Regions from separate parts of the Homo sapiens genome. Here regions 2, 3, 4, 5, 6 and 7 are each linked to region 1. Evidence: promoter capture Hi-C in 16 types of primary human blood cells and fetal thymus (Javierre and others, 2016). All regions are on one chromosome and are shown on one strand. The core of a region is centred on a gene start or on the middle of the fragment in contact, and the rest is flanking DNA. Distances in the headings are between cores, read along the strand shown. Region 1 holds the start of ZFP69B (ZFP69 zinc finger protein B). Region 2 overlaps CAP1 (cyclase associated actin cytoskeleton regulatory protein 1). Region 3 overlaps PPT1 (palmitoyl-protein thioesterase 1). Region 4 has its middle 2.6 kb from the start of PPT1. Region 5 has its middle 22 kb from the start of PPT1. Region 6 has its middle 22 kb from the start of RLF. Region 7 overlaps RLF (RLF zinc finger).

Region 1 (4,039 bases), core at 1,133-3,632:
TTTGCTTTACCTATCTACATTTTTTCTGAAGCACTTCAAAGTCGTCTGCATCATAATACTTTATCCCTAAATATTTCAAATAAGGATCTTCTCTTGTACAACCACAGTACTATTTATTAAATCTATGAAAATTAACAATAATTCCATAGTATCATCTAAATATTCAGTCCATATTCAGATTTCCTCAACTGTTTCCTCAACTTTTATTCTGGATTTTTTCCAAACCAGGAGTTAATCAAGGCTCACACATTCAAAGTGGTTGTTACCTCTAGTCTCTTTTACTCTAGAATAAGTACTTCCCCTTTCTTCATGATGTTGTCTTTTTAAGATACAAGAACAGTCTGACTGTATCCTCAATGTGAGGTTTATCTCATTTCTCCATCCCCTGTATTTTCTGTAAACCAGCAGTTCAGTCTTTAAACTTAATTTAGGATCATGTTCAACATTTTTGGTAGGAATACCTTGTAGGTGGTACCAGGTGCTTTATATTACAGTATCTGCAAAGTATAAAATGCCCGGCTATCCCATTACTGAGACATTTGATTAAAACTGTGACCACCACACCTCACTATTGGAAAATTATGTTCATTCCTTGCCATTTAGTAAGTAATTTGAGGGGATAATACTTTGATATCATGTGAGTATCTGTTCCCCATTAACCTTTCAATTATTTTATTTACGGTAAAAGATTCTATCATTCTTTCTACATTTATTTATTTATTTATTTATTTTTGAGACAAGGTCTTGCTCTGTCACCCAGCCTGGAGTGCAGTGGCGCCATCTCAGCTCACTGAAACCTCCCCTTTCCTAGTTCAAGCGATTCTCGTGCCTCAACCTCCCGAGTAGCTGGGATTACAGGCATGTGCCACCACGCCCAGCTAATTTTTGTATTTTTAGCAGAGATGGGGTTTCATCATGTTGGCCAGGCTGGTCTCAAACTGCTGACCTCAAACTCCTGGTCTCAAGCAATCCGCCCACCTTGGCTTCCCAAATTGCTGGGATTACAGGCATGAGCCACCACACCTGGCCTCTTTCTACCTTCATTATTGGCACGCATTTTCTGTAAAAAGCTTTCCCTCACCAACTGAAGAGGATCTAAAAGGCAAGGTAAATGCACATTCATTCCCATAATAACCTATTTTTCAAAGTAAGGAATCAGTGTATTAATTACCTCCAATGTTTGCAAATGAATTCCCCCCCCCCCACGTCTTTCTCTATTTTAAGTGTCAAGGTGATCATGTGGAATTTTACTTATTCAAGGTGTTACCATCAGTTTGGATACTTAAGCTTTCCCAAATCTGTCGAGTGAGAGACCCTTAAACCTGGCCTCTTTTGACACATATCCATAGTCTTTAAGCTCTTCCTTGCTTTCTAGCACAAGTTACTCCAGGCTCACCTGGTACTTCCCCTGCTGCTTCTCTTTCTGACCTAGCCACCAAGTTCCTGTGTGACCCTGGGCAGGCCTCCCATTTGATTTACATTTCCCCACTGTTAGAATAAGAAAAATCAGGTTAAGTCCATCCTGCCCCACATGGCCATGGGAAAGATGAAAATAAATAATATACATAACCATGACACTGAAATACTGGTCCTAGGCTGAAAAGACCACCACTACTTAGGAAAACCCCAGACTAGGAGCCACAATCAACAACTCCGGAAACCCTCCACCCACTCGTCTCCCTAAGAGATGCTTCCACTCAAGTGACTCATTCCTTCTCACACTAGAGGGGACTGCTTTTCCTCCCTCCCACCCATCAGTTTATTCTTACCTTCTGCTTTAAACATCTTAGTCACATCCTCCCACAGGGCCACCCGCTCCGTGGCCGCCTTTGGATGACGCAACTTCACCCAGGTGCTGGCCTCGGTGGGCAGGGTGATCAGGAGCTGCTGCAGCATGACGGCGTCCGCACTCCTTTCTGAGGACCCTCTGTCTTAGCCCATAGGGCTTGTCCACCTCTGATGAGGAAATTGCTGGAAGCTCTGACAGGAGGCTTCCCAATTGTACCGATCTCCTTAATCGCCGACTCCTACTCCTCAATGTCCTCTCTCAGGAACCCAGGGAACATACAGTATCAAAATCCGAGATCTGGACTTGTGTCTATCATCGGCTCTCAGGGCGTATCTCCCAACTTGAGCTCCATCTGTCTCCTTGGCCAGCAGCTGGAGGCGCCAAGTATTTACTCTCAGCAGCCCCTGCAGATGCTGAGCAGAAGACATTAGAATCAGCAAAGGACTAAGGAGGCTCAGTCATAGGGCAGAACGCTAGAACATATATGGATCACTGTAAAATGTTTCCAAAAGATACACGGAGACGGTGGGCAGACACAGCCCACAAAATTCAAAGCACCGCGCACATGTCAGGAAGCACAAAGAGACGAATACAACCCAATTCTTTGTTTGGGGCAGTAATTATGTGTAAAGTAGCCGGGGATTTGGAATCCCAGCTCTTTCACTAGTCGGCTGTAGCAAACCGCGAAACCGCTAGACCCCGCCTCCTCCTCCCCAAATGAGAGGCTAAGTCCTCCCCACAAAGCAAAACGCCCCCGGCCCTAGCCTCCCAGCCTTTGTCTGAGCACGACTCCGGGGCTGCGGAGAGCACCGCGCGCGACAGGGTGGCCGCGGGCGGAACTCGCGCTTCCCGGCTCGCCCAGCTCCCCAAGCCCGGGACAGCCACCCGCTCACCCTCTCCCCGCTGGGCCGGCACGCCCCCGCCTTCCCACCGCTGCAGCCGGGTTCCGGCACTGCGCGGCCAAGCTCCCACGTAGCGCTGCGGCGGGCAGTCGGGGCCCAGTGCGCCTGCGCAGCGGCTGGCTAGAGCATGGTTCCCAGCGTCCTCCCGGGGAGCCGCTCCGCCAGCGCAGACGCCCCCACCGGTGCGCGCCGGGTTGGCTGCGTTCAGGGGCTCCCAGTATCCGATCCCTGCGAGCATCATCAGCCTGGCTCCTGCGGGAGGAGATGGAGCCTGCGTTCTTGGGCCCCAGACTCTGATGAAGAACAACCATCTTTCCTCCGCTGGGAAAATGCACGTGAACGTTAGGGTGAGCCTTTGAAACCCGTGACAAAAGGGAGCCATCGGCATCACGTTTTTTGGTGAAACGACACTGGTGTAAAATAATCCATAGCACTTTCCCTAAATATTATGTACATGCCAGTTATTTATTCTCAGCAGACAGTTGAATGGATTCCGGTATATTGTTAAAAGAATACCACAACAGTTTTCTCTTCTAGTATTCAATAAAAGTTCTCATGTTTATTGCTTACCTTGTATTTCTGAAATGCCAGAAAATACACAAAAACAAAAAAATTATTGCCTGTAATTTCAGCAAGCAGCGGTAACCTTGCTAACAGTTGGTGTACAACCTTTCCTGCACACACACAACGTATTTCATGCATTGTTATATATTTTCCACAAAAGCGATTATACTGTAATGCTGTTTTATTGCTGAGTTTTCTCCCTCCAACAAAATTTGAGTACATCACTCCAAATACATTTCTACATCAACAGTTTACAAAAACAACAAATGAGGAAATAGAATACAATTATAGTACTTGCTAGCTGTTATGAACCGAATGTTTGGATTCCCCAAAATTTATCTTGAAGCCCTAACCTCCATTGTATTTGGAGAGTATTTAGAGATAAGGCCTTTATGGAAGTAATTAAGGTTAGAATATAGTCCTAGTCAGAAACGAACCCAACTCGACCTTACTTGGGGCTTCTAGTCTCCACACTGAGAAAATAAATTTCCGGTTTTTTGTTTGTTTGTTTGTTTGTTTTTTTGAGATGGAGTCTCGCACTGTCCGCAGGGCTGGACTGCAGTGGCGTGACCTCGGTTCACTGCAACCTTCGCCTCCTGGCTTAAAGCGATTCTCCTGCCTCAGCCTCCCAAGTGGCTAGGATTACAGGCGCCCGCCACGACGCCCAGCTAATTTTTTGTATTTTTAGTACAGACGGGGTTCCACTATGTTGGCCAGGCTGGTCTCAAACTCCTGACCTCGGTGTCTGCCCGCCTCGGCCTCCCAAAGTGCTGGGATTACAGGC
Region 2 (4,039 bases), core at 1,017-3,516, 390 kb after region 1:
GAGAAAAGGCTGAACTTACACATCTTTGTACTCTTTGAGGACTCGGTTTGTATAAAACATGGCGGCATCATTCATTTCTTTCACATAAGGGCCAGGCTTGGGAGCCTAGAGAGAGACAAGCTGTCAGTGACTCAGGACCTCTCCAACTATATTGCCTTCCCTCTTAAAATCTATACCCACCCCCAGCCCTGGAATCTGCGCTGCTCACCATAGCCACCCAGCCCAGGGCCTGGATACTTTCGCTGACAGCTGACAGGTGATTAAACAACTTGCTGCCTCGGTTCTTCTCCCGAAAGGTTATCACTTCTTTGATCTGCTCTGAGATGGGTGCCAACAAATCGGAAAGCTTATTCTAGGAAAAGATACAAGAAAAGATTCAGGTTAACATCTTTCCACAAAGGTGTCTATGCCTTCTGATCCTGAAGGCAAGAATTCTCTATGGACTCTAGTGAGCACCCAAATAAACTGCATGAGTCCTGTCCTGATTCCTAAGGCTAAAATACTGCTCATCATCTCACTCTCCTCGTAGAGTTCCAACTCCTCAGGCTGCACCTGATGGTTCTTCATGATCAGGACCCATACTTCAGCTATACCACAGAACCTCCATTTCAGCCACCTGTCTCTTTTTTGTTCCACTCAGAGGACATACACTCAGGACATCATTCCTGTGCCTTACTCATGATGTTCTCTTTTTTTCCCATGAATCCAAATTTTCCTCATGCTTCATGAGGGCCCTCCAACCCAGCCACACCAGCCTCCTACAGCATTTGTTGTCAGCATAACCAATCTTGGCATTTTATCACTCACCAATACAAACTATTAATGGACCCATGTGAATATGTTTTACTTTCTCATTAATTCTTCAAAGACGAGCTCTTTTATCATCATGAAAGCCCCCAATGCATTGCCAGCCATATAGTAGCTGCTGTAAAGAACTGATGAATCAAATGCAATTAGGGGGCTTAGTCTGGGCATGGTGACCCACGCCTGTAATCCCAGCACTTTGGGAGGCCAAGGCAGGAGAACTGCTTGAGACCAGGAGTTCAAGACAGACTGAACAACACAGCACAACTTTGTCTCTACAAATAATAAAAAGAATTAGGGCCAGGCATGGTGGCTCACGCCTGTAATCCCAGCACTTTGGGAGGCCAAGGTGGGCAGATCGCTTGAGTCCAGGAGTTTAAGATCAGCCTGGGCAACATGGGGAAACCCCATCTCTATAAAAATACAAAAATCAGCTGGGCATGGTGGCGCATGCCTGTAGTCCCAGCTATTCAGGAGGCTGAGGTGGGAGAATCACTTGAGCCTGGGAGGTGGAGGTTTCAGTGAGCCGAGATCCTGCCACTGCACTCCAGCCTGGGCGACAGAGAGAAACTCCATCTCAGAAATAAATAAATAAATAAGTAAGTAAATAAGCAAGCCAGGCATGGTGGTGCACACTGTAGTCAAGGCTACTCAGGAGGCTGAGGTGGGAGGATCATTACACCTGGGAGGTCAAGGCTTCAGTGAGCTGTGATTGCACCACTACCCTCCAGTCTGGGTGACAAAACAACACCCTGTCTCAAAAAAAAAATTTTTTTTTAAACATAAATAAAATAAAAAACAATTAGGGGCTTAGCATTCAAGTAGGCACCTTGGCAAAATGGATGAATTTTGTTTGTGTTTGCACCCTTCCTCCAAAGCTCCATTTCCTGAACATCTCAATTCTCAGATCTTAACCATTCAGGACAGATTAAGAATTAAAATCTAATTCTACATATTAGAATTAGATGGCATCTATACACACACACACACACACACACACAATGTTTTTTGAGAGAAGGTCTTGCTCTGTCGCCCAGGCTGGAGTGCAGTGGTGTGTTCATGGCTCACTGCATCCTCAAACTTTCAGGCCCAAATCTTCCTCCCATTTCAGCCTCTCAAGTAGCTGGGACTATACGCATGCACCACCTTGCCTGGCTATTTTTATTTATTTTATTTTTTTAATTTTTAATAGAGACGAGGTCTTGCTATGTTGCCCAGGCTGGTCTCAAACTCCTGGCCTCAAGTGATCCTCCTGCCTCAGCCTCCCAAAGTGCTGGGATTACAGGAATGAGCCAGCACACTTAACCAGAATCTAATATATTTGACATTATCTTGCACTATTTTTATATTATCTAGGCATGCTGAGGGTCAAGGGTTTTAATACAGCATTTAGGACAACTTGCTTTATTATTCCTCTGTAACTAGGAAAACCAAATGCAAAAGAAGGAAACCTATATTCTTTGACTCCAAGAGAAATCTAAATTTTCTCTAATTCAACTTTTCACATCTTGCACCATAAAATTTTGAGGTGGGAGTAAAATTAAAGAGAGAGTCTCCCAACCAGTGAAGGATGAGGAGAGAAGCAATACTGTAGGAGTTTTAAGATCTCCACAGGAGCACTACTAAAGCCCATCCACAGTGAAGCAAGAGAATCATCTTTAAAGGGCTTTGGAGACACTATGATGAATGTGGACTCAGCAAAGAGGCAGGCAAGCAAAGTCCCAGGGATAACCACAGTCCTATGCAAAATGACAGAGAAAAAGCCAGTAGAGACCATTAAGTACCCAATAGTACCTTCCCATTAAGGCACTTGAAGTATGGCTCTACCTCTGGGACTTGGTATGAACATATATTATCAAAAGCCTAGTAGGTCTATTTTAAAATGTTATAATAGCTTGACATAAATCTCTCAACTCGTCCTGAGCATCAAACCAAAATGAAACCAGCTAGTAGTGAACTTACTTCTGCTGGCTGTTGACACTGAGAAGCTGTAACCAACAGAGCTCGCTCCAACTTCAAACCTGTGTGGACCATCTCCGCCTGCCAGAAAGAAGAATCAGCTATTGATGACACATTATAACTAGAGAAGTCTTGATAAGAATAACCTGAAACCTCTACTTCCATGTACTCTGATAGCAACCCAGGCACTTCATGTTATCCTCCTCATGTATTCCAGATTCCAGGGACTGAGAGCAGAATTACATACACTACTGTTCCTATTGGAACTCATCAGGGATATATATCCAGAGTTGGAAGTGAAGTTAATTGGATAATCACCTAGCTTACATGAAGTCATGTTAGCATCTTACACATGCATTGTGATACCGTGCACTGAAAAATCCTTCCTATTTCACATCAGCAAAATAAAACAAACAGCAACCAAAAAAACACCTTTCTTTTCTCAAAAATTGGAGACAGGAGTAAAGGCAAAGGCCTAAATTTCTGCTGAAAATTCTCAAGGTATTTACTCCTTTAGATTAAAGCTATCTCTCAAATGCCAGATACCATGACCCATTAATAAATAATTAAATCAATTTAGTGAGCTTAATGGAACAAAAGTATGAGTGCAGTGCACCAACTTCAAGTTATTTCCAAATAAAAAGTTAAAAAAAAAAAAAGTACAGCAGAAGTAGTATAAATATCATCTTGTGAAACTTTTATCTCAGTTACGAATATGTTCTTTCTTTCTAAGGGTCATTCGCAGTCAAAAGAATTTAAGAAACATGAGACTGTAAGCACTATTAAAATACAAAAATTCAAAGAAAGCAATCTATTTTTTCTGGATTTGCATTTTTAAAATACAAATGATAAATGTTTTAAAGTTTTTTCAAATGTTACAGAACTGTATTAAGTAAAAATGCAAGCCTCCACACCCTTATTAAAGTCCCAGTCCCACTCTCTAGAGCTAAAACCATTGGCAACAGATGGTATTTGAGAGGCTCAAAATAGATTTTCCAAAAGCCAAGCAACCAGTCTTCGAGAAAGGTTTAGGTGAAGAAGTTCCCAAGCATGGTTACTGTTTATAATTCGGTGAGCTAGCAGGAAGGTTTTTGGGTCCCAAAAATAGAGGTAGAATGTATATGTGAGTGTGGGGTGGGGGTGGGGGGTGGTGGTGATGACGTAGGAGGCATAAAGGAAGGTGGGAGGAAAGGCACCTGTCATTGCCTACTTCATATTCTTGCTGTGGGTTAAGTGTGAAAATAACCCACATTAGCATAACTAATAACTATCAAGC
Region 3 (3,181 bases), core at 39-2,538, 370 kb after region 1:
GGCAGACACTAGGAAAGAGAAGTTCTGTTTTTTTTGGGAGGCAGGGCCTTTGAGATTCAGTTCCCTTTAGGGAGGTTGAAATTCATTTGCCTTTCTTCCCTTAAGTTCTTTCCCTCTCCTAGTGTTGAAACACACAGGATAAGCTCGGCAGGTTGCTGACTGGGCGAGGTGGAAATTCACAGCTGCTGTCTTAATGAGGGAAGCTTTCCTGATGGATCAGTCTGGGGGTGGATTTTTCTCTAGAGATTTACCTAAAAGAGAGATACAGTAGGCACTGAGTATGTCCCAGACACAAACATGGTTTGGTAGGTTCTGGTAAACTAGATGGCTCAGTTTATATTTGACTCATCTGGAGAGTCTTTTGGTTTTTTGTTTTGAAACAGTTTGAAGGGAAAAACAAACCAAACAAAAAACAACACAGAATAGTATATAGCAGAACGACCCAGAATTTGCAGTTTCTTATTTTGTCTTGGCTTTCTCTGACTAGAAGCCTCTCACCTATGTGATGGACACCTATGGAGTGTGGTGTAAACTCATAGTTGTACCTGTATGCCATGCTCAGTGGCATGTCAGTCAGATAGGATGGTAAGAAAAGCCTATAGAAGGCCGGGCGTGGTGGCTCACGCCTGTAATCCCAGCACTTTGGGAGGCCGAGGTGGGCAGATCACTTGAGGTCAGGAGTTCGAGACCAGCCTGGCCAGCATAGTGAAACCCTGTCTCTACTAAAAATACAAAATTAGCTGGATGTGGTGGCGATCACCTGTAATCCCAGCTACTCTGGAGGCTGAGGCAGGAGAATCGCTTGAACCTGGGAGGCAGAGGTTACAGTGAGCTGAGATGGTGCCACTGCACTCTGGCCTCGGTGACAGAGCGAGACTCCATCTCAAAAAAAAAAAAAAAAAAAAAAGGAAAAGAAAAGGCTGTGTAAGCAATCCCGTGACTGGGTATATACCCAAAGGAAAACAAATTGTCCTGCCAAAAAGACACTTGCACTCGTGTTTATTGCAGCACTGTTCACCATAGCAAAGACATGAAATCAACCTAGGTGCCCATCAGCGGTAGACTGGATAGAGAAAATGTGGTACATATACACCATGGAATATTACACAGTCATAAAAAAGAATGAAATCCTGTTCTTTGCAGCAACATGGATGCAGCTGGAGGCCGTTATCCTAAGCAAATGAACACAGAAACAGAAGACCAAATATCACATGTTCTCACTTATAAGTGGGAGCTAAACATTGGGTACACGTGAATATAAAGATGGGAACAATAGACACTGGAGACTCCAAAAGCTGGGAGGGAGAGGCTAGGGCTGAAAAACTTCCTGTTGGGCACTGTGTTCACTATCTGGGTGAAAGGATCAACAGAACCCCAAACCTCAGCATCACACAATATACCCTTATAACAAAACTACACATGTACCCCCCTGAATCTAAAATAAAATATTTTGTTTTTTAGAAAAAAAGAAAAAAAAAAGCTGTACAGGTATATCCTGGTCAGGAAGCTGGAAAACAGCCCATACCCATGGGGAAGAAACACAGTGGCACAGGGTCAGGGAGACCAGAAAACAGGAAGGCTTTACTCCCTCTGCTGGTGTCTGATGGTAATGACCTTAGGTGTTGCTGGCCTTTCTTTCAGGGTATCAATGAGTCCTACAAGAAAAACCTGATGGCCCTGAAGAAGTTTGTGATGGTGAAATTCCTCAATGATTCCATTGTGGACCCTGTAGATTCGGAGGTGAGACACTACTTAGGCCACATGCCAGGAGAGTAAATGGCATTAAAATAGGGCTGCTGGCCGGGCACGGTGGCTCATGCCTGTAATCCCAGCACTCTGGGAGGCCAAGGCGGGTGGATCACCTGAGGTCAGGAGTTCAAGACCAGCCTGGCCAACTTGGTGAAACCCCATCGCTACTCAAAATACAAAAAGAAATTAGCCGGGTATGGTGACAGCCATCTGTAATCCCAGCTGCTTGGGAAGCTGAGGCAGGAGAATTACTTGAACCCAGGAGGCAGAGCTTGCAGTGAGCCAAGATCGTGCCACTGCACCCCAGCCTGGGTGACAGAGCGAGACTCTGTCTCAAAAAGAACATAAAATGAAATTGAAATGAAATGAAAAAATACAGCTGCCTGCTGGGGAAAAAACCTTCAGTCCCTTCCACCAACTTTTGTATAAAACAGTTCTTCACCTGAGGTCCATAAATGGGACACTGAAGATTGTAATCAATCCCCCAACCCCAAAATTCTATGCAAAATTATGTAATTACATTCTCTGGGGAAGGATCTATAATTTTAATCCATTTTCCAGAGATCAGAGACCCAAAAAATGTTCAGAATCACTAGCCCAAAATATATAAATTCCTAAGCTTGGCCTCCAAGGTCTGCCTTGATCTGGCTTCACCCCATTTTCCAGCCTAATCTGCCTTGTCTGCACGCTTCATACACTCTTGATCAAGCCATATTGTACTACTTGTGCTTTTTCTCTCGTATGCCTTGGTTCATATATTTCTGTCTCTAGAATGCCCTTCCTTGGCTTCTCCACCTGACAATTTCTATTCGTCTGTCAAGGCAAGGATGCCATCCCCATTCCAAGCAGAATGTGATCGCTTTTTTAGAATCATCAGCCTCTGTTAAAACACTCATCACGTTATGTCACACCACCAGGGATTGGCCGATTGTGGCCCACAGGCCCAGTCCATCCTGCTACCCGTTTTGGTGCTACCCACGAGTAACACCAAACACTAACATAAAAGAATGTTTTTAACATTTTTTAATGGTTGGGGGAAAGAATTGGACATATAAAGATTATGTAAAATTTATTTAGACATATCAAGTATTTGGACATATAAAGATTATGTAAAATTTAAATTTCAGTGTCCTTATTGGAACAGTTTTAGTTACTTTTTACATACTGTCTGTGGCTGCATTTGTTACAGTGGCAGCAATGAGTAGTTACAACCATATGGCCCTTAAAGCCTAAAATATTTTGTATCTGGCCTTTACAAAAACGTTTGCTGACCTCTGTACTCAACAGTGAATTGTTTCCGTGCCTTGCAAGACTGGGAGCTTTTTGGAAACAGATTATGTATTCATCCTTGAATGTCTAGAGCTCAGCACAGGAATTTTTCACATTTATTGCTTAATAATTTTAGGAAGCAGAAATTCTGGGGAAGTGGAAA
Region 4 (4,039 bases), core at 824-3,323, 350 kb after region 1:
ACTAATGGCTGGTGTAGTCCATTTCCATGGAAAAGATAGCTTCACTTTTTGGAACTTCTCTCAGTTCAGCATGTTTTCCTGAGTCTTCACTGCCATCTTAAAGATTTGGTCTATTCCATACTTCCCATTTCAAGTTTTTCTCCCCAGTAGCCATTTTCAATTTTCCAGAGATGGGAGGGGAAAGAGAAGGAAAGCGTTTACTTTTCTTCTCTCTTGTAATGTATGTGGATATGTTTGTGTTAATTGTCAGGATTTTGTGGATCTAATTGTATGAGTTTTGATGGAATGAAGGCAGAACTGGAAGCCTTGACATGCTCCAGCCCAGAATCTTCTATTTATTTCCTTGACCACCACTTACTGACATTTAAGATACTGACGTTTTTTTGCCGTGGATACAATTTTAACTTTTTAAACTTTCCTAGATATTGGTTGAAACAGAGTCTGTGAGATAGCTTTACTCCATTTTCTTAATCTAGAAGTCTAATAATTTTTAATGTGTGTATATTTTCCATTTTTATTATAAAAATTGTATATCCTTGCTGTAAAATTTCAAACCAAACACAAGTATATAAAGTAAAAAGTGAAAGTTCCTTGTAATACTGCCCTCAAGAATATTACTTTTAACGGTCTCCAGATCTTTTTAAATATTTATTTTCTTTCTTTTTTCTTTCTTTCTTTTTTTTTTTTTTAAGATGGGGTCTCGCTCTGTCGCCCAGGCTGGAGTGCAGTGGCTCGATCTTGGCTCACTGCAAGCTCCGCCTCCCGGGCTCACACCATTCTCCTGCCTCAGCCTCCCGAGTAGCTGGGACTACAGGTGCCTGCCACCACGCCCGGCTAATTTTTTGTATTTTTTAGTAGAGACGGGGTTTCACCGTGTTAGCCAGGATGGTCTCGATCTCCTGACCTCGTGATCCACCCGCCTCAGCCTCCCAAAGTGCTGGGATTACAGGCGTGAGCCACCGCACCCAGCCTCTTTTTTCTTGGCAATGCTTTGACCTTTCAGTGATAATGTACAAATATATAAATACACAGATGTCTTCTTTAAAAAAAGAACAGCTTTATTGAAATATATTCCACATGCCATAAAAGTCACCCATTTTATGTGTACAAACCAATGATTTTTAGTAAATTTATAGAGTTGTACAACCATCATATATGTATGTACATAAATACATAGTTATTTTCTTATGCCCTGTTTAACTTACTCTCCCAGTTCTAAAATGTACTTACCTACTTACCTATGCCCACAGCATGCCCACATGGCTAGAGGCTGCTTTTCAGAACTCTTGGGTAGTTCTGTTCCTGTCAATTGAGCTACTTGCTTACTAAATGCCTTTGGGCTTATTTTATTTATTTATTAATATATCGGTGATATTTGCTATCATAATTTAGTTAAATTTTTGAAAACATGAAATATGAGCATAAAGAGAAAAGAGATGTTTCTGTGAAAACTAAGTTGAATGCATTGGAAAAGCTTGTTAAAGGCAAGTTGTTAAAAAAAATTGTTAAAGTAACTCTGGGTCGGAAATCTGAGAGTGGAAAGTCTTCCATCTAGAATAATTTCACATCCAAACACTGTGGCTCACACCTGTAATCCCAGCACTTTGAGAGGCTGAGGCGGGAGGATCCCTTGAGCCCAGGAGTTCCAGGCTGCAGTAAGCTATGATTGTGTCACTGCAGTCCAACTTGGGGAATAGAGCAAGACCCTGTCGCAAAAAAAAAAAAAAAAAAAAAAAGTCATCATAGCACTATTCATAATAGCAAAGACATGGAATTAACCTAAGTATCCATCAACAGTAGACTGGATAAAGAAAATGTGGTAGGTATACACCATAGCATACTACACAGCCAAAAAAGGAATGAGATAATGTCCTTTGCAGCAACATAGATGGAACTGCTTAGGTCATTATCCTAAGCAAACTAATGCAGGAAAACAAAACCAAATACCACATGTTCTCACTTATAAGTGGGAGCTAAACATTAAGTACAGATGGACACAAAGAAGGGAACAACAGACACTGGGGCCTACATGAGGGTGGAAATGAAAAGTTACCTATTGGGTACTATGTTCATTATGGCAGTGACAAAATAAAACGTACACCCAACCTCCTTGACATACAACTTACCTATATAGCAAACTTGCATATGTGACCCTGAATCAAAAATAAAAAACAAAAAGAATGTTGGTCTGGCACAATGGCTCACAGCTGTGATCCTAGAACTTTGGGAGGCTGAGGGGGGCGGATTGCCTGAGCTCAGGAGTTCGAGACCAGCCTGGGCAACATGGCGAAACCCTGTCTCTACAAAAAACACAAAAAATTAGCGGGGCATGTTGGTGGTGTGTCTGTAATCCCAGCTACTCGGGAGGCAGAGGCACGAGAATCGCTTGAACCCGGGAGGTGGAGGTTACAGTGAGCCAAGATCACGCCACTGCACTCCAGTCTGGGGGACAGAACAAGACCCTGTCTCAAAAAAAAAAAAAAATTGCATTCAGATTGCTTCACAAGTGTCTTTCAGTTATTGCTCCAGTTTAAAGAAACCTTTAAAGAAATTATAAATAGTTCATTAAAGGCAGGAAACTTCATTGAGCGGGCTATATTCACAGAAAAATCCTGAAACTACTTCAATTTGTAAGTCTTAAGTTAAAATAAAATGCTTATACAATAAGCTTATTTTTCTTAAAACAAAACTGTATACTGTACTGTATAATGCTTTATGATTCTGCATTTTTTTTTCTTTGAGACAGAGTTTCACTCTTGTTGCCCAGGCTGGAGTGCAGTAGCTCAATCTTGGCTCACTGCACCCTCTGCCTCCTGGGTTCAAGTGATTCTCCTGTCTCAGCCTCCTGAGTAGCTGGGATTACAGGCACCCACCACCATGCCCGGCTAATTTTTTGTATTTTTAGTAGAGATGGGGTTTCATCATGTTGGCCAGGCTGGTCTCAAACTCCCAACCTCAGGTGATCCACCTGCCTCAGCCTCCCAAAGTGCGCCCAGTGGATTCTGCATTTTAATCGACTTTTCAACTAACAACTTACCTCTAGTCCCAATGGCATGGAATAGAAGAGATTACAGACCGTGGGTTTGTAATCGACTTTTCTTTTACAACATATTAAGGGCATTTTTCATGTCACTTTATGTAAATTTACCTCATTTTTCTTTTTTGAGAGAGACAGGGTCTCACTGTTGCCCAGGGCAACAGCGAGATCATAGCTCAGTGCAATGGCGAGATCATAGCTCAATGCAGCCTTGAACTCCTGGGCTCAAGTGATCCTCCCACCTTAGCCTCCCCAGTAGCTAGGATTACAGGCACATACCACCACCCCTGGCTAATTAAAAAAAAATTTTTTTTTTGTAGAGATGGGGTCTTGCTATGCTGCCTGGGCTGTACTCTCTTTTTATTTATTTTTTATTCTTATTTTTTGAGACAGAGTTTTGCTCTTGTTGCCCAGGCTGGAGTACAATGGTATGATCTCAGCTTACCGCAACCTCTGCCTCCCGGGTTCAAGAGATTCTCCTGCCTCAGCCTCCTGAGTAGCTGGGATTACAAGTATGCGCCACCACACCCGGCTAATTTTGTAATTTTAGTAGAGACGGGATTTCTCCATGTTGGTCAGGCTGGTCTCGAACTCGCTACCTTAGATGATCTGCCCACCTCAGCCTCCCAAAGTGCTGGGATTACAGGAGTGAGCCACCGCGCCCGGCCCTATACTCATTTTTTATAAAACTGGCCTCATATTATTCCATTGTATAGTGGATACACTCTAATTTCTTTATAAATTATTTAAACTATTTTTTGATGTTTTGTTGAAAAAAAACTTGAGCAGGGAACTGATATTATGAAGGTGGATTGAGGGATGAATGTGGCAATAGAGCATAAAATGAATTAAAGAGGAGAGAATGGAAAAGGAAATGGTTGATGAGAGACCCTTGAAATAATCCAGCTGAGATTAGGCCAGTTAGTGGCCATGGGTTTCCCCCTCACTCTTATGCATCCAACATATGCTTTCGTCCGTCTTGAAGTCCCGACATTTCTAGAA
Region 5 (4,039 bases), core at 985-3,484, 330 kb after region 1:
GTTTGCTGGAAGAATTGTAGGAGGTTACTTACTTTTAAAATTTTTTCTGCAATGTTGTTACACTATCTTTTTCAGCAATGTTTTGAAGAAAAGGGATCTCCTTGATCTTCATCTTGATGTTCCTAAGACAAAAGCCAAATCAATGAATGACTCATTGCTGGCCACATCTGACCCAAATGTTAGACACTGACAAGACTCCATCCTCCAAAGAATATCTTGGTTAGAAGTATTTAATTGTTCTAGGTTCTGGAGATATGGCAAAGCATAAGATTGAATCCCTGCTCTCTCAAAGCTTACATACTAGAACTGTGTTGTCCAGTACAGTAGCCACTGGCCACATGTGGCTATCTAAATTTAAATCAGTTAAAATTAAATTAAATTAAATTAAAAATTCTTTTACTCATTCACACTAGCCACATGTCAAGTGCATAGGAGTCATATGGTAACTAGTGGCTACTATATTGGACAGCTCAAATATAACAATACTTCCATCATTGCAGAAAATTCTACTGGTTAGTCCTCCTTTAGACAGAAGAGTTTGATAATAATCAAGTAAACAAAAATGGACAAGAGTAAACATTGCTCTGAAGAAAATAAAAAACAGTGCTGCCTTGTATTGTAGACTGATGGTCTTGGGAAGGCATCTCCGAGGGACTCCCATTTGAGCTGAAAAACTAATGACAAGAATGAGCCAGTCATGCAAAGATTTGGGTACAGAATGTCTCAGGAAGAAGGTGAGGCAACTGTAAATGCCATTGAGGTAGGATGTGAAACTCATCTCCAGAGGCAGGGCTTGAACCTCGGACCAGATAGAGAAATAGCTAAAACAGGGAAAAGTCCAAAGCACCTCTCTGTAAGACACTCCCACTAGTGTGCCATGTCAGTTTACCATTTCCATGGCAACGCCCGAAGTTACTGCTCTTTCTTTTCTTTCTTTTTTCTTTCCTTTTTTTTTTTTGAGATGGAGTCTCGCTCTGTCACCCCGGCTGGAGTGCAGTGGCACAATCTTGGCTCACTGTAACCTCCTCTTCCCGGGTTCAAATGATTCTCCTGCCTCACCGTCCTGAGTAGCTGAGACTACAGGCATGTGCCACCATGCCTGGCTAATTTTTGTATTTTTAGTAGAGACGGGGTTTCACCATATTGGGCAGGCTGGTCTTGAACTCCTGACCTTGTGATCTGCCTGCCTCAGCCTCCCAAAGTGCTGGGATTACAGGTGTGAGCCACCATGCCTGGCCAGTTACCACCCTTTCCATGGCAATGACCTGACGACATTTTTTCTAGAAAATTCTGCATAATATTCCCCTTAATTTACATATAATTAAAAGTCAGTATAACGACTACTCCAGAACTGCCACTGAGCTGCTACTGTGGGCACACTGCCTATGGCGTAGCCCTGCTCCTCAAGGAGCAATACTACTGCTGCTGCTGCAGCTGTACACGGCCACTTCAATAAAAGTTGCTAACACCACTAGCTCGCCCTTGAATTATTTCCTGGCAAAGACAAAACCCTCCTGGGCTAAGCCCCAATTTTGGGGCTTGTCTGCCTTGCATCACCATGAAATGGGAATAAGCCTGGGGTATTTCAGAAACAGAAAGAAGATCATTTTGGCTAGAATTTTGTAAGCAAAGAGGAGAGGGGCCTGAGATGAGTTTGGAGAGATAGGTAGGAACAGACTCTGTAGGGCTTCCAAGGCCACAGTGTGGGGTTTGGAATCATCCTCTTTCTGTTTTCAGAGGGTGGTTAACCAGATGCTGCCTTGAGGTCTGCAGATAAGTTTATACTTTTCGTTAGGTTTTTTGAGGCCATGAATTAGATATTCAGGCACCTGAGACCCTGGGGCACAGCAGAGTTGAAGAGCCTGACAATGGTTTTGGAATTGAGCAGAAGATGGTGTCAGAAAAGTTGGGCTTGCCAAAGACAAATAGGAAGAATTGGGGTATCAGCCAGCAGCACCCACAATCCCACTATCAGATGAGGCAATAGACTCACTCAGGCAAGTCAGTGCTTTCACAGGGCGACAGAGAGCTCCTCTGTGCTAGCTCCTAAAGGAGTAGTCAATACATGGTTATACCCATTTTGTTGGTCCCACCCTAAGCACGAACCTTTTGAATATTAAAGGGACACAGCATGGTTTAGGCCAGCACTAAGCGTAGGAGAAACTATAGGTGGGCAATGAGAGAGTAACATCCCCTCATCCTGGAGTGTTCAAAAGCAGAGCCATCTTCTACCTTTATCTAAGACCCATCCATTCGATCATTTATTCTCTCAACAACTCTTGGTTGTGTGCTTCTGCTCTGAATTGTTTTAGTTGTCAGGAATATAGTATTAAATAAGACAAGTTCTTTATGTCACTTACAAAGCAGGTCATAAACAAATGGATATATAATATAATGTTAGGTGGAAAACGAAATGGTAAAGAGGATCAAGAGTGATAGGAGCATATACAACTGGCCCTCCATATCTGCAGGTTCTCTATCAGCAGATTCAACCAACCGGGTATGGAAAATATTTGGGGAAAAAAAGAGCGTGGTTTTGTCTGTACTGAATATGTATGGACTTTTTTTTCTTGTCATTACTCCCCAAGCAATATAGTATAACAACTATTTACACAGCATTTCCATTATATTAGGTATTATAAGAAATCTAGAAATGATTTAAAGCATATGGGAGGATGTGTATAGGTTACATGCAAATACTATGCCATTTTATGTGAGTGACTTCAGCTCCTTGGACTTTGGTATCAGAGGAGATCCTAGAACCAATTCCCCACGGATACTGAGGGATGACTATATATTGCTTGGGGAAAGCTCTAAGGAGGTGACCTTCGAACAGATATCAGAATGAAGTGAGGGTGAAAAACACGCAAATACTTGGAGGAAGAGCAGTTCAGGCAGAAGGAACAGCAGATGTCTTGAGGTGGGAGTCGACCTGGTGGCCTCATAGAAGCAGGAGGCCAGTGTGCTAGAGCTCAGTGAATGAGGGGTGGCCAGGTGAGGGATGCAACCAGAGACATAAGGCTGGGGGTGTGGATGTAGTTAAGGACTTAAGGGCCTTGGAGATCATCATAAAGATATTTGGTTTTCTTCTTCTTTTTTTTTAGAAGGAGTCTCACTCTGTCACCCAGGCTGGAGTGCAGTGGCATGATCTTGGCTCACTGCAACCTCCACCTCCTGGGTTCATGCGATTCTCCTGCCTCAGCCTCTCGAGTAGCTGGGATTACAGGCGCCTGCCTCCACGCCTGGCTAATTTTTGTATTTTTAGTATAGATGGAGTTTCACCATGTTGGCCAGGCTGGTCTCGAACTCCTGACCTCAGGTGATCTGCCTGCCTCAGCCTCCCAAAGTGCTGAAATTACAGGTGTGAGCCACCGCTATTGTTTTTAAAGTCATGGCGCCAGAGGACATTATCTAGGGAGTAAGTATAAACAGAGAAGAGACCGCAGGACTAAGGGGTGACACTCTACCTTTAGAGGTTAGGAACAGGAGAAACAAGTAGAGCAAGAAGACAGAATAATATTTCATTGTATGCATAGACCACATTTGTTAACCTATTCATTCTTCGATGAACACTTAGGTTGTTTCCACATTTTGGCTATTGTGAATAATACTGCTGTGAACATGGGTGTTCAAACATTTCTTCAAGACCCTGCTTTCAATTGTTTGAGTATATATCCAGAAATGGAAATGCGGATCATATAGTAATTCTATTTTTAATTTTCTGAGGAACCACCATACTGTTTTATCCAGCAGCTATACCATTTTACATCCTCACCAACAATGTACGAGGGTTACCGTTTATCCACATCCTCACCAACACTTATTTTCTGTGTTGTTTTAATAGTAGCCATCTGTGAAATAATAATAAATAAAAACCATTAAGAAATAAGAAATATGTCTCTGCCCCAGTTCATGAGACAGAGTTCCTAATACCCTTGCTGATAGGGGTGCTAGGAGAATCTTTTCTTCTAGTATTCGATCTTTGACCCAGTTCCTAACACAAATCTCCTTAGACTTTTGTAATTTTCAGAGTGATAGG
Region 6 (4,039 bases), core at 959-3,458, 310 kb after region 1:
AGGGCTGGTGGAGCCTGGGCCAAGGAGACTCTGGTGATCTGGGCTGGCAGGTCTGGGGCTGAGGTAGTAGCTTACAAGGTCAGGACAACTAGGTTCAGAGCCAAATAAATGGTTCTCATGGTCAGGAATGGCAGGGTCATGGCAAAGCCTGCAGCTCAAGGTCAGGGTCAGTAAGAATGGGGCCAAGGAGATGGCCCATGTGGTCAGGAGATTGAGCAAATAAGAAAATATATTGAGAATAGTGAGAGCCAGGTTTCTTACTCTTGGAGACAATAAGTATGAAAAGGGGAAAGACTAGAACAAACCCTGTAATTAGAGTCAGAGGTGTGAGCCTATAGGGTGTGTGTGTGTGTGAATATTATATATGATATACAAAGAGAGACAGAAGAGTAGATGTGTGTGTTTATGATATGTATAGTGGCTTTTTGGTTTTTCAAAACACACTAATTTGTAGCATTTGCTGATTTCCACGGTGTAAATACTCCCAGCATGAAATAATACTAGTTTCACAGCCACCCGCAAAGTTCCTGAATATTTAACAAGCAGCTTTTGCAAGTCCATATGAGCCAACTCCACTACAGTACTTCGGAATGTACATCATACGTATGATTGTGTGTGTGTGTGTCCAGACATATTTTTCCTAGTTGATATCTTGTTTCCTTGTCCTACTGAAAGGACTTGCAAGACCGACACACCCATAGCAATGAGTGCACCTAGCATCTACATCTTGACTTCCAAGTATCATTCTTCACTAAAAAGAAACCAAAAGTTCTTAGAGAAATGGCTGATTTCATGACTAGGGCAGTGAAAAATCTTACTGGTTCAGGAAGAAAGGAAGTATTCAAAGAATGAGGATGTAGTAAGCTAAGTAATGGCCCCTGAAGCTCTAATCTCTGGAATCTGTAAATATTATCATATACAGAAAAAGGATCTTTAGAGATATGATCAAGGAACTTGAGATGGGGAGATTGTCTTGGATTATTCAAGTGGACTTTAAATGCAAACACAAGTATCCTTGTAAGAGAGAGGCAGAGAGAGATTACGCAAAAGGAGAAGGCAGGAGGCAGAGACTGGAGTGGTGCAGCCACAAGCCAAGTGCCAGCTGGAAGCTGGGAGAGGCAAGGAACGAATTCTCCCCTAGAGCCCAGAGGAAGCATGGCCGTGTTAATATTCCTGATTTGGGCCCAGTGAAGTTGATTTTGAATGTCTGGACTTCAGAACCATGAGAACTGCAGCTGTTTTAAGCCACCGAGTTTGTGGTACACTGTTACAGCAGGCATAGCAAACTAATACAGATGAGAAATGTCAAAAGAACACAGGAGCCAGTGTAAAGAGGCTCCCACTGGCCAAATCAGGGACAATCTAGTCATCAAAGTAAATTATGATTGTAAGGAATTATAACTTATTGAATAAATTGGGAATCCTTAAGCCCACACTAATATAAATAAAAAATTAATTAAAAAGGATACAGGAGACCAGGTCCAGTGGCTCATGCCTGTAATCACAGCACTTTGGGAGGCTGAGGCAGGCAGATCACTTAAGGTCAGGAGTTTGAGACCAGCCTGGCCAGCATGGTGAAATCCCATTTCTACTAAAATTACAAAAATTAGCTGGGTGTGGCAGCGTGCACCTGTAGTCGCAGCTACTCAGGAGACTGAGGCATGAGAATCTTTTGAATCTGGATGGCGGAGGTTGTAGTGAGCCAAGATCTCGCCACTACACTGCAGCCTGGGCAACAGAGCAAGACTTGGTCTCAAAAAAAAAAAAAAAAAAAAAAGAGGATACGGGAAAGGAAATGATACTTTACTATAGAATTCAAGTAATAAATGTAGAAGAAACAATGGACATAGGAAAATCTCTATTTGGTGGCCATTATAGTAATAATCCAGGCAAGAATCATTAATGGATGCTAAAACTACTAGGTGTAAATTCGTGTATATTTATGTGTGTGTGTGTGTGTGTGTGTGTGTGTGTGTGTGTGTGTATATATATATGGAAAGAGAGAGAGAGAAATAAAGAGATAAGGAGGCAAATATGATAAAATGCCTCTGGTGGAGATTCTTCAGGATTCTCTGTACTAATCTTGCAAATCTTTTCTAAGTGTGAAATTATTCAAAACCATTTTTTAATTGTGGCAAAATATACATAAAATAAAATTTACCAACCTGTCCGTTTTTAAGCATATAGTTCAATAGTGTTAAGTACATCTGCATTGTTGTGCAACCAATCTCCAAAACTCTTATCTTGCAATCTAAAACTCTATACCCATTAAACAACTCCCCATTTCCCTTCTCCCCAGCCCCTAACAACCACTATTCAACTTTCTGTCTATAAATTTGACTACTAAGTACCTGATATAGGTGGAATCATACAGTATTTGTCTTTTTGTGACTGGCTTAGCGTAATGTTGTCAAGGTGCTACATCCATGGTATAGCATATGTCAGGATTTCCTTCCTTTTTAAGGTGGAATAATATTCCATTGTATGGATATATCCTATTTTGCTTATCCATTCATCTGTTGATGGACATTTGGGTTGCTTCCATGTTTCAGCTATTGTGAATAATGCTGCTCTGAACATGGGTGTACAAATAACTCTTCAAGACCTTGCCTTCAATTCTTTTGGATATATACCCAGAAGTATCAGTGCTGGATCATATGAAAATTTTATGTTTAATTTTTTGAGGAACTGCCATACTGTTTTCCATAGCAGCTGCACCATTTTTCTCTCTTTTCTTTTCTTTTCTTTCTTTTTTTTTTTTTTTTTTTTTGAGACAGAGTTTTGCTCTTGTTGCCCAGGCTGGAGTACAATGGCGTGATGCTGGCTCACTGCAACCTCCGCCTCCCGGGTTCAAGTGATTCTCCTGCCTCAGCCTCCCGAGTAGCTGGGATTACAGGCACCCGCCACCACGACCAGCTAATTTTTGTATTTTTAGTAGAGATGGGGTTTCACCATGTTGACCAGGCTGGTTTCAAACTCCTGACCTCAGGTGATCCACCCGCCTTGGCCTCCCAAAGTGCCGGAATTACAGGTGTGAGCCACCGCGCCCAGCCAACAGCTGCACCATTTTTCATTCCCATCAACAGTACACAAGGATTCTGATTTCTCCACATCCTCACCAAAACTTGTTATTTTCTTCATATTTTTGATAGTGGCCATCCTAATGCGTATGAGATTGTAGCTCGTTGTTTTGATTTGCGTTTCCCTAATGATTAGTGATGTCAAACATCTTTGCATGTGCTTTTTGGCCATGTGCATATCTTCTTTGGAGAAATAACTATTCAAGCTCTTTGCCCTTTTTGTTTTTTTTGTTTTTTTTTTTTGCGACGGAGTCTTGCTCTGTTGCCCAGGCTGGAGTGCAGTGGTGTGATCTCAGCTCACTGCAACCTCCACCTCCCAGTTCAAGCAATTCTCCTGCCTCAGCCTCCCATGTAGCTGGGATTACAGGTGCACGTCACCATGCCTGGTTAATTTTTTTGCATTTTTAGTAGAGACAAAGTTTCACTGTGCTAGCCAGGATGGTCTCGATCTCCTGACCTCATGATCCTCCTGCCTCAACCTCCCAAAGTGCTGGAATTACAGGCGTGAGCCACTGTGCCCAGCTTATTTGCCCAATTTTTAATTGGGTTGTTTGTTTTGCTGTGAGAACTCTCTGTATATTCTGGATATTAACCCCTTATCAGATATAGGAGTGCAATTATTTTCTCTCATTCTGTGGGTTGCCTTTTTACCCTGATTGTGTCCTTTAGAGCATTGTTTGTTTGTTTTTTGAGACAGTTTCACTCTTGTTGCCCGGGCTGGAGTGCAATGGCACGATCTCAGCTCACTGCAACCTCCGCCTCCCAGGCTCAAGCGATTCTCCCATCTCAGCCTCCTGAGTAACTGGGATTACAGGCGCCCACCACCACACCTGGCTAAATTTTGTATTTTTAGCAGAGACAGGGTTTCTCTATGTTGGTCAGGCTGGTCTTGAACTCCCAACCTCAGGTGATCCGCCCGCCTCGGCCTCCCAAATTGCTGGGATTACAGGCGTGAGCCA
Region 7 (4,039 bases), core at 494-2,993, 260 kb after region 1:
TGACCCCTAAGCAATCCTGCTTCCCAGCTGAATTAGTAGAGAAAGAATGCAGAATGGGTGTCTGTTACATAACTAAGATTTCACCTAATTTATTAAAATCAGCCAGGTGCTGTGGCTCACGCCTGTAATCCCAGCACTTTGGGAGGCCGAGGCGGACGGATCACAAAGTCAAGAGATCGAGACCATCCTGGCCAACATGGGTGAAACCCCGTCTCTAAAAATACAAATATTAGAGATGGGCGTGGTGGCGCGCGCTTGTAGTCCCAGCTGCTCAGGAGGCTGAGGCAGGAAAATCGCTTGAACCTGGGAGGCGGAGGTTGCAGTGAGCCAAGATTGCGCCACTGCACTCCAGCCTGGCGACACAGCAAGACTGTCTCAAAAAAAAAAACCAAAAAACAAAAAACAAAGAAATTTATTAAAATCTATGTTACAAAAAAATTCTGGTTTAGGTCAGTAAGTTACTTACTGTCTGCATTGGCTAATCTAAGAATTAAGGAGTTTCAAAAATTTATATTTAGTGCCAGATTTATGTTCCTTAAAGTCAGACATTATGTCTCATCAATCCTTATAGGCCTACCACTCCTCTACCCACTTCCACCCCCACAGGACATTCTCAAGTCTCACTAAATGTCTGCTGAATACATTCACCATTTTATTCATTTGACAAATATTTTTCAATAGATTATCACACATAAAGTGCTAGATGCAGTGGGGGCGGGCAGACATGTGGCCTATCCTCACAGAGCTTTCAGAATGAGTCAATACAACATGATGGCTGAAACCACACATGCAAATTAACCAACTGCTAACTAAAGTATGCAAAGAGAAGGACAGAGTGCATACAGATGGGGTTAGTCTTTCCACAATCCACCTGTCCACTTAGAACGCTCTTGCCACCAATCTAATAGCTTCTGACAGACATTCCACCAGGACTTCTGTAAGCTACACAATTTCAAAGATTCAATACTCTTGAGGAACTTCCAGTTTGCTCTATACTAATTTATACTTTTTATATTCCTAAATCTTTACCCCCTCATGTGTTGGTTCAAATTAAGTAGTGAGATCTCTTATACCCACTATAAGCATACTCTGGGTATGTGAAGAATGGCTGGAATAATCAATCTTCTTCATTATCACTTTTTTTTTAAATTGAGATAGAGTCTCATTCTATCACTGCTGGTGATCCTCCCACTTCAGCCTCCCAAGTAGCTGGGACTACAGGCATGAACCACTGTGGCTAGCCAGGCATTTTCTTTCTTTCTTTTTGTTTTTTTAATCAAGTCTCACTCTGTCACCCAGGTTGGGGTGCGGTGGTGAAATCTCGGCTCACTGCAACCTTCACCTCCCAGATTCAAGTGGATCCTTTCACCTCAGGCTCCTGAGTAGCTGGGATTACAACTGTGCGCCACCAGGCTCGGTTAATTTTCCTGTTTTTAGTAGAGATGGGGTTTCACCATTTTGGCCAGGCTGGTCTCGAACTCTTGACCTCAAGTGATCCGCCTGCCTTGGCCTCCCCAAGTGCTGGGATTACAGGCAAAAGCCACCTCGCATCCAGCCTTTGTGGTTTTTTTTTTTTTTTTTTTTTTGCTTTTTTTTTTTTTTTGAGACAGTCTCACTCTGTCAGCCCAGGCTAGAGTGCAGTGGCACGATCTTGGCTCACTGCAAGCTCCACCTCCCAGGTTCACGCCATTCTCCTGCCTCAGCCTCCCAAGTAGCTGGGACTACAGGCACCCGCCACCATGCCCGGCTAATTTTTTTTTTTTTTTTTTTTTTGTATTTTTAGTAGAGACGGGGTTTCACCGTGTTAGCCAGGATGGTCTCGAGCTCCTGACCTCGTGACCTGCCCGCCTCGGCCTCCCAAAGTGCTGGGAGCCACTGCGCCCGGCTTTTTTTTTTTTTTTTTTTTTTTTTTAATGCAAGATTAGGTTGAAAGGATTACAGCCATCCAAATAACAGGATGGCTGTAATCCTTTCAACCTAATCTTGCATTTAAAAAACTGGACTAGGCAAGGTGGCTCACGCCTGTAATCCCAGCACTTTGGGAGGCCGAGGCAGGTGTATCACTTGAGGTCAGGAGTTCAGACCAGCCTGGCCAACATGGTGAAACCCTGTCTCTACTAAAAATACAGAAAGTAGCCGGGCGTGGTGGCGCATGCCTCTAGTCCCAGCTACTTGGGAGGCTGAGGCTGGAGAATTGCTTGAACCCGGCTAGAGTTCAGTGGTTCAATCACAGCTCACTATAACCTCAAACTCCTAGGCTCAAGTGATCCTCTCTCCCACCCACCTCAGCCTCCTGAGTAGCTAGGACTGGAGAAGTGCATCACCATGCCCAGCCAATTAAAAAAAACTTTTTTTTTGTAGGGACAGGGTCTCTTTGCTGCCCAGTCTGGTCTCAAATTCCTGGGCCTCAAGTGGTCCTCCCACCTTGGCCTCTCAAAGTGCTGGGATTACAGGTGTGAGCCACTGTACCCAGCCACGGTCTCTTATTTTTCTTTAGGAACTGAAATCACAACTGAAGAGAAAAGGGGCAATAAATGATAAAGATGACCTCCTAAAGTTCATTCTACAGTGACCAAATTAATGACCTCTCTCTTTTGTTTCAGTAAACTCATTCCACAAATACCTACTATTTTGTACTGTGCTGGGAAGTAAGGATGGAGACTCTATTCCTGCCCTTGAAAGGCTATGATATATACTAAGGGGTCAGATATATAAGTAAAAAATTAGCTCACTTACGCACCATATTTGACTATTCGGTGCTCTCATTCACATCCCAAGCAGATTACCCTCAAATTACTCTCTCAAGTCCTTGCTATATACCTCAACTGCCTATTACATATTTCCATCTGGATGTCCTATTCAAATCTCAAACTCAGCATGTCCAAAACCAAACATCTTCCCCAGCAAATATGCTCTTCCTCCTATGTTCCATCTGCCTCCTTTCAGGAGCCAGAGCTAAAAAACTATCTTTGAAACCACCACACCAAAGTTTGTTGATTCTATCTCAGAAATATCTTTGTCTCCTGTCCCTATGCTTTATCTCTGTAGCCATTCACCTAAACCAGGCCCCCAATATCCCTCATCTAGACTGCTACATTGGTTCACTTCTCTAGGCTAAATAACCTCTAGTTCTGTATATGTGTTATAATCACGTATGTCTGTACATTGAAAAAATTAATGTCCAAGGGGAAAATGACTAGAAGAAATTAACTAAAATGCTTACATGGTTAGCACTGAGGTAGCAGGAATATGAGCAATTTTTGTCATCTTTATACTTTTCTAAACTTCTCAAATTTTCTTTAATAAGCATGACTACATTTTCAAAGCAAAAAAAATCTCCCCTCACCCTTAATTCTCTCTACATTTCTCACTACATGGTTTCAAGGAGCTTGGCAGCATTCTGACTATTCCTTGAAACTATCAAGAAAGGAGAATTTCTTTCAGGATGGTCACATTTAATGTTTAAAGAATACATTCCAATTTAAATTTCACATAGTTCAGGATTAACTTTCCTAATGAAATAATTATATTTACTGAGCACATAGTATGGGTTAGGCACTTCCTAAGAGCTTTACGGCCACTAAACTTATTTAATATGCACAACTCCATGAGCTAGGAGTTATTATCAGCCCATTTCAAAAATGAGGAGCCACTGTCAAGTTGTCTTTTGGGAATTTTTTTTTTTTTTAAATGAGGAAACATGAGAGATTGAATTATTTGGGCAAAGTCATCCAATAGGTGTTAGATTCAGGATTTGAACTAGAGCCATCTGGCTCCTCAGCCCACACTTAATCACCACGCTTTCTTTATGCCTTTTCACAATTCAACTATTTTAAGTGTGCTTTTAAATTCTGCCCCCTCACCCCCAGCATCAGCTTTAATATTTTGTAGCAAGTTGTGTCATGGTCATCATTTGGCCTTCTTCCCGAGTTTACAACATCTAACTTCCATTCTAAAGTGAATGCTTCTGGGGAATGTTTTCAAGCAATGGCACTGACAGATATCCTGTACTTCAGAATGCTGGTGGGTCACAAAAAAC

Evidence for each region. The method cuts DNA at HindIII sites, captures the fragments that hold promoters and counts their contacts. A CHiCAGO score of 5 or more calls a contact.
Region 2: a fragment that was not itself captured here is called in contact with the fragment with the promoter of ZFP69B in region 1 in 1 of 17 cell types (total CD4 T cells); the score reaches 6.2 in total CD4 T cells.
Region 3: a fragment that was not itself captured here is called in contact with the fragment with the promoter of ZFP69B in region 1 in 2 of 17 cell types (total B cells and total CD4 T cells); the score reaches 8.0 in total B cells.
Region 4: a contact is called between a fragment that was not itself captured here and the fragment with the promoter of ZFP69B in region 1, in 3 of 17 cell types (erythroblasts, naive B cells and naive CD8 T cells). The highest score is 7.3, in erythroblasts.
Region 5: a contact is called between a fragment that was not itself captured here and the fragment with the promoter of ZFP69B in region 1, in 5 of 17 cell types (total CD4 T cells, neutrophils, naive CD8 T cells and 2 more). The highest score is 9.0, in total CD4 T cells.
Region 6: a fragment that was not itself captured here is called in contact with the fragment with the promoter of ZFP69B in region 1 in 12 of 17 cell types (total CD4 T cells, naive CD8 T cells, total B cells and 9 more); the score reaches 16.0 in total CD4 T cells.
Region 7: a fragment that was not itself captured here is called in contact with the fragment with the promoter of ZFP69B in region 1 in 6 of 17 cell types (neutrophils, total B cells, naive B cells and 3 more); the score reaches 7.3 in neutrophils.

The regions. Positions count from the first base shown.
Region 1 is chr1:40,448,819-40,452,857 of GRCh38, reverse strand. ZFP69B (ZFP69 zinc finger protein B) reads right to left here and starts at 2,382. Exons shown (of 5, transcript NM_023070.3): 1 at 1,770-2,382. The coding sequence starts at 1,896. ZFP69B-DT (ZFP69B divergent transcript) reads left to right here and starts at 2,819. Exons shown (of 5, transcript NR_198977.1): 1 at 2,819-3,038. RefSeq lists an enhancer at 1,089-2,288 and a silencer at 2,504-2,763. The HindIII fragment of the contact is 15,908 bases long and covers 1,290-4,039 here.
Region 2 is chr1:40,060,540-40,064,578 of GRCh38, reverse strand. It overlaps CAP1 (cyclase associated actin cytoskeleton regulatory protein 1), which reads right to left. Exons shown (of 13, transcript NM_006367.4): 4 at 2,767-2,844; 5 at 209-352; 6 at 20-105. Among named protein-coding and RNA genes, the nearest start is that of CAP1, 22 kb to the right of the region's middle. The HindIII fragment of the contact is 3,835 bases long and covers 349-4,039 here.
Region 3 is chr1:40,077,119-40,080,299 of GRCh38, reverse strand. It overlaps PPT1 (palmitoyl-protein thioesterase 1), which reads left to right. Exons shown (of 9, transcript NM_000310.4): 7 at 1,642-1,740. Among named protein-coding and RNA genes, the nearest start is that of PPT1, 19 kb to the left of the region's middle. RefSeq lists a silencer at 1,497-1,546. The HindIII fragment of the contact is 2,165 bases long and covers 206-2,370 here.
Region 4 is chr1:40,097,873-40,101,911 of GRCh38, reverse strand. No RefSeq gene overlaps it. Among named protein-coding and RNA genes, the nearest start is that of PPT1, 2.6 kb to the right of the region's middle. The HindIII fragment of the contact is 1,194 bases long and covers 1,477-2,670 here.
Region 5 is chr1:40,117,189-40,121,227 of GRCh38, reverse strand. No RefSeq gene overlaps it. Among named protein-coding and RNA genes, the nearest start is that of PPT1, 22 kb to the right of the region's middle. The HindIII fragment of the contact is 3,880 bases long and covers 295-4,039 here.
Region 6 is chr1:40,137,318-40,141,356 of GRCh38, reverse strand. No RefSeq gene overlaps it. Among named protein-coding and RNA genes, the nearest start is that of RLF, 22 kb to the left of the region's middle. The HindIII fragment of the contact is 6,332 bases long and covers 1-4,039 here.
Region 7 is chr1:40,183,391-40,187,429 of GRCh38, reverse strand. The region is part of intron 1 of RLF (RLF zinc finger); the gene reads right to left. Among named protein-coding and RNA genes, the nearest start is that of RLF, 24 kb to the right of the region's middle. RefSeq lists a silencer at 695-884. The HindIII fragment of the contact is 6,433 bases long and covers 1-4,039 here.